Regions from separate parts of the Homo sapiens genome. Here region 2 is linked to region 1. Evidence: promoter capture Hi-C in 16 types of primary human blood cells and fetal thymus (Javierre and others, 2016). All regions are on one chromosome and are shown on one strand. Each heading gives the region's core, a stretch centred on a gene start or on the middle of the fragment in contact. The rest is flanking DNA. Distances are from core to core; before and after follow the strand shown.

The links. The method cuts DNA at HindIII sites, captures the fragments that hold promoters and counts their contacts. A CHiCAGO score of 5 or more calls a contact.
Region 2: a contact is called between a fragment that was not itself captured here and the fragment with the promoter of DZIP1L in region 1, in 2 of 17 cell types (M1 macrophages and monocytes). The highest score is 6.8, in M1 macrophages.

What each region holds. Positions count from the first base shown.
Region 1 is chr3:138,114,031-138,116,932 of GRCh38, forward strand. It overlaps DZIP1L (DAZ interacting zinc finger protein 1 like), which reads right to left and starts at 1,578. Exons shown (of 16, transcript NM_173543.3): 1 at 1,298-1,578. RefSeq lists enhancers at 889-1,390, 1,391-1,890 and a silencer at 1,013-1,232. The HindIII fragment of the contact is 15,110 bases long and covers 1-2,902 here.
Region 2 is chr3:138,219,588-138,222,428 of GRCh38, forward strand. It overlaps ARMC8 (armadillo repeat containing 8), which reads left to right. Exons shown (of 22, transcript NM_001363941.2): 3 at 2,339-2,410. Among named protein-coding and RNA genes, the nearest start is that of ARMC8, 34 kb to the left of the region's middle. The HindIII fragment of the contact is 2,960 bases long and covers 1-2,841 here.

The DNA of each region.
Region 1 (2,902 bases), core at 328-2,827:
ATAATTGCTTTTCACATGTAAAAGAAAACTGGCTTAGAACATACTAGCGTTTTCTTTGCCATGAAGGAGTTCACCTTCAGTGACTAAGCCAGAACTACTAGAGCTGCCAGGCCTAGGGACAGGAGACATTGCCAGTGCTTAGCCAGGCTGGCCAGGACTAACCATCTCTGCAAGGAGTCCACAAGAAGCCTCAGGGCAGCCTTTCCCTGCTCCTATCAATTTGAGTTGAGCAAAAAACCTTTGACCAAATATCAGCTCCATGGCACAACCCACAGTTATGGTGCCCACATGAACTCAGGTTTCTGTTCCCAACCTGAAGCATACAACTTCATGAGGTATTTTATCAAGTTAGATAGTATCAAAAAATATTCCCAGATGAGGGAGGTGTCTGACCAAGACAGTCAGAAGGCCCCTTATCAGCCACTAGACTGGAGGATCAGCCTTCCCTAAGCAGGATTGTTCTCACTGGCCAGTCCTCACATCCGGGAGGGGGAGGAGAGGTGCTAGGGGCTGCAACTGAGAAGGGAGAGATCACCCACCCTATCTGCAGATGAGGGTGTGAGAAGCCAAGTCAGAACACCCCATACTTCCCAGGCCTCTCTCCAAAGTCCTGTTAGAAATCGAATTCCAGGAGACCAGGCAGGGGCAGCCTAGGCCCTGGGCCCCTAGGAAGTGCTCCGTGAACTAGGCCCTGCCCAGGCAGCCTCGGACCCCCTCCTCTGCCCTGCCTCCTGATCCCTGTCCTGCACTGAGCAGGTCTTCGGTGGACTTTATGCGCAGCCACCTCAGGATGAAAATACCACGTCTGCCTCCTGCTGAGGTCCAGCCCAGGAAAGGAAGAAGGGGAACGAAAGATGCCAATGCGATTGCTTTTAAATCACCTCATTACTAAAAGAATCCTCCTTTACCTACGGCACTCAGATCATCAAGCCCTCCCAAATCACTTTTCTTTTTTCAAAAAGTAAAAACCCAAGGCCGTCTTCCCAGTGAAGCCGAGTCTTGGGGCATCCCGTCATTCGTCCCCCGCGCACGGGTCCTTCCCTCCCTGGGCGCCGCAGTTCGGAGCAGGCCGAGGGGGCCGGGCTGCAGGGCCGCGCCGGGCCAGAAGGGCGCGCCCTGGGCAGCGCGGACGCACGCAGCCGGCTCCTCCCGCGCCCCGCTGCACCCCGGCAGGGAGTTCGCCCCCGCTAATGTTTAACCTCCCGAATCGCTGATCCCTCGGACTGCAGCCAAGCTACCCACCCGCCCCGCTCCCGGGACGAATTCCTGGCATAGTTTTCCCGCGCGGCCCGCTCACCGTGGGGTCTCCTGGAGCCGGGGACGGCGGGAAGACGTCTCGAGGTGGCGGCTCCCATACTCGCCCCACGTCCCGCCTCCAGACTTGCTCCACCGCCCCAGACAGCCCAGAGATGGTTCCCGGAATGCTCACCGCCCGCCGTTCCCGGGATGCTTCCCCAGCCCCACGCAGTCCGGGCGCTCTCTGCGGCGGAGGCAGAGCCTGCCCGGCCCACTCCAGTGCCGCCAACCTGCGGGACCGCGGACAGAGAGCTCCTCGGTGCGTCGGTCAGCTCGTGGCTTGGGGTCTCTGGTGCCTCCAGCTCCTACTACAGCCGCCCCGCCCCACCTCAAGAAGAGGTGGAGCCTCTCCCGGCCCCTCTCGGACGAGCTATTTTTAGGTCTGTAACGGATGGGGGAAGGCGGGAATGCCACGTTTAATCCGTTAGTAAAATCCAGGATCCAAGTGAATGGCTTCCTGGCCTTGCTGAGAGGCTGGACTTGCCCCGGTTTCCCCACACCCTGCCTCCGGTACAATCGATAGCCTGCTGTGCAGGGGCGGCCGCACCCCCCGGGCAGATAGCCCTGCCCACCCTCCTAAAGGGACCGTCCTGGTTTCTTCCTGACCGGATCCCAAGCTAGGAGAGTTCTTTGGGTGTGCCCCAGGTCTGATCAGACAGACAGCAGCCACCTTCCCTCCGCAGCCCCCACCCACCACCCCCTACCCTCCCAACCTGCTGGTTTGCCCTGGGGATGCCAACTTGGAAACCCAGGACTGAAAAACTTATTTTTTCTCCTGATATTAGTCCCTGATCTCTTCCCATAGTAGTAGTTGCTTTGCTGAGATTCCGTTTTGTGGGCACCGTAACTGTGAGTTGTGCCATAGAGCTGATATTTGGTCAAAATGTTTGTTGCTCAACTCAAATTGATAGGAGCAGGGAAAGGCTGCCCTGAGGCTTCTTGTGGACTCCTTGCAGAGATGGTTAGTCCTGGCCAGCCTGGCTAAGCACTGGCAATGTCTCCTGTCCCTAGGCCCGGCAACTCTAGTAGTTCTGGCTTAGTCACTGAAGGTGAACTCCTTCATGGCAAAGAAAACGCTAGTATGTTCTAAGCCAGTTTTCTTTCACATGTGAAAAGCAGTTATGTTTGTTTTACAATTCTGCATCTGGGAAGATAGGACATGTCAGTATTCATTCCTCTTCTCTAGAGCACTCACAAGGGGCATCAGTCAAATACCTACCCCTATTTTTATTTTAAATAAAATCCTTTTGTGGCAAAAACTTAATAGGCATTTGATAAAACCATGGCCACTTAAAAATATCTCCTTAAAGTTGCTGGGAATAGGAGGCCAGGTGTAAGGAGAGCTCTGCGCCTGGTGGAGGGAACCTCTGTCTCGCTGCTTGAAGGTTCTAGGAGTCGCTGCAGCCCCCATGAGGGTCAGGGAAGAGTGGGAAAAAAGCTCCTTTTCACACACACTCTCTCTCTCTCCACTCCGCAACTCTTCTCCCTCCCTCTTTCTCTTTTTTCCATTTCAAAGGCTTTCGTCCCACCACAATCTCAATCTGCCAAGCTCTACATTTTGAGGCAGCCAAAGCAAATGTGTATGGGAACAAGCGTTGTCAAGGAC
Region 2 (2,841 bases), core at 185-2,684, 110 kb after region 1:
AATCCTGTTAATCCTTTTGATTTTAATTCTTCATGGAAGTGATCTATTAACATTCCTTTATAGCAACAATTGAATAGAATTTATTAACATCTTTTTTTCCTTATCTAGCACAGGTATATTTACTTACTAAAGCCAAAGCGAGAATCTTTTTCTTTAGACATTGTTCCATTGTATTGTGTTCTCTTTAGTTGGCATTTCCTCTGTTGCCATCAGTTACCTCCTTCATGTCCTTTTTGTAAACTATTAAGAGAATTAGAAAATTGGTGTTGGACAGGTTTTTGTTTGCTCTTGTCTGTAAAAACATGGCATGGTTTGAGATGTTTGGAATGGGTTCATTTGGTAATGTTAGGGACCGCTCATTTCTGCTTAAGAAGAATGGAGAGGAAAAACTGGGGAAATATTAGGGTTGGGAGTTCTGGAATAGAAAGCATTCAGAATGGCACTTAGCCTACACAGACTCTAAGTAGGTAGGGGCTGGATAAATGAATGTTCTACATTAGTATAGGCAGAACACATTAAGAGAAAGGAAGACAATGAAAGTGAACAACAAGCTGGTAGGTTAAGGTCCATATGCTGATGATTAGGAACTAAAGCCTCTAAAGAAAACAGGCATCCATGAGGATGCGGGAGCTTAGAAATCTCTTACTAACTTTAACTTTGCTAATTGATCCTTTGATATCATATAGTTTTATATTCATGTATCAGAACTTGCTAACAACCTCAGTAAACTTCATTCAGTTCAGTCCCATAAACAACAACAAAAAAATTGCTACTTATTTCTTGTAAACCATATAGAAGATCTGAGGGATACTTTACAGAGGGATAGGTCAGGCCTGGAAAAAAAGCCCTACCCTCAGGCACTGAGCTAATGGAAGAAAGACCAGGCATTCTCAGTATTTGGCTTGACTTGTAAAAATGCCATTCAGAAACTTGTAGGGAAAATCTGCTTTTAGCACATCACTAGTTGTTGCAGTATTTTTCTGCAATAATCAAAAAAGGCAATTGAAGACAAGGGTTAATCGTTACCAGGTTCTTTAATGCCAGTAAATATGATTGGTGTTAGAAATGTATGCTGACTATAACATTTATTTGTTGATTTTTTTTTCTTTTTTTTTTTTTTGAGATGGAGTCTCGTTCTGTCACCCTGACTGGGGTGCAGTGGCGCGATCTCTGCTCACTGCAACCTCCACCTCCCCAGCTGAAGTGATCCTCCTACCTTAGCCCCCCAGGTAGCTGGGACCACAAGTGCGTGCCACCACACCTGGCTAATTTTTGTATTATTTGTAGAGATGGAGTTTCGCCATGTTGTTCAGTCTGATCTTGAACTCCTGAGTTCAAGCAATCTGCCTGCCTAGGCCTCCCAAAGAGCTGGGATTACAGGTGTGAGTCACCGTGCCCGGCCAGGGAAGTTTTTTTAAACATTTTATTAGTAGTACTGGGTTTATTTTGAGCTATTTATTTTTTCTCTACATTTCCTTTTGAACCAACCACAAATTTGTGAGCCAAGTGATCAGTGGTAGAGGTTCTCTTATTGTGGAATAGAGTTTTGCTCCTGGTGAAGTATAGAGCTCTGTATAGCTAGAATAAAAAATACTGTGAATATCTGAGAAATGTAAAAGATTCTTTGTTATTTTTTAAATCGCCTTAAGAGATAACTGGCTGCTTAAGCAAAAATAGTAACAATGTATTATGTTGTTTCTAAGCAATTTAAAAATATTGTATAACAGCAGCCCAAAAAATGAATGGGAAAGTGGAAATACATATGCAAGGCTCTTAAAATACATGTGCAATGGGCTAATATCACTTGAAGACTGACTGTGATAAATTAAAAGATGCATTGGAAAATAACAAAGGAGTACAGTTAGTAAGACAATAAAGCAGATAAAATGGAATTGTAAGAAATAATATATAAAGAAGTAAAAAAAAAAGTGAACAAAGTGTGATCATTGAAACAAGGAGTTAATGTTCTGTGGGCTGTTTTTTCTGTTGTTGTTGTTGTTCGTTTAACTCACTCCCTACTCTTAGAGCTGAGCGTGAGGGTGGCCTGTATTCCTTTGTATCCAAAGTATTGGTAGGTACCCTTTCTAGAAGAACTCAATTCTGTACTGGAAGTCTTTCGCCAGTACTCAGGATATCTCTCACTTTCTACAATACGCCGTTTTACAGCCCCCACATTCACTCTGCACCTATCTCTATCCCTTCATTAGTACTTTAGGTGAAAAAAGGTTAGTGCTTTTACTTTGTCAAATCTAAGATATTGCATAATGAAGTAGAATGATCTTTGATTTTTCTTCAGTGCTGTCTCAACATACTTTATTTTTTCTTCCCCTTAATTCAGAGACATGAAAAATGCTGTAATTGGAAACAACAAGCAGAAAGCCAATCTCATTGTTTTAGGAGCTGTTCCAAGGTATGTTTGCTGTCTCACCCCTTTCTTGCCATTCATACTAGTTTCTAATGTATTTCTTACTCTCAATTATAGAACCCATTTTTCCTGTATTGTCTGTCTAATTCTTAAAATAAATCCTATTTTTAAAAATAAATGTAAGTATTTAAACTATCTTTAAGGAAAAAAATTATAAAGTAACAGAGAATGTAGTAAGAAGTGAATGTGTTAATACATTTTGGAAACTCAGGAAGACCTTTGACCTGATGACAAAAGGGTTCGTAAAGTACATATGCAATGTACAACAGCCTGATACTTTCTTCTCCATTTCCTTAGAGCCTTGGCAGTTTTTTGTGTGAGTGGGTAATTTATTAGGAGCCTTAAGACCTTTTTGAATTTAAAGGAAAAAAACCCTGCTTGATTTTTAATCCAGTTTCATTTTTTAACTTCTGATT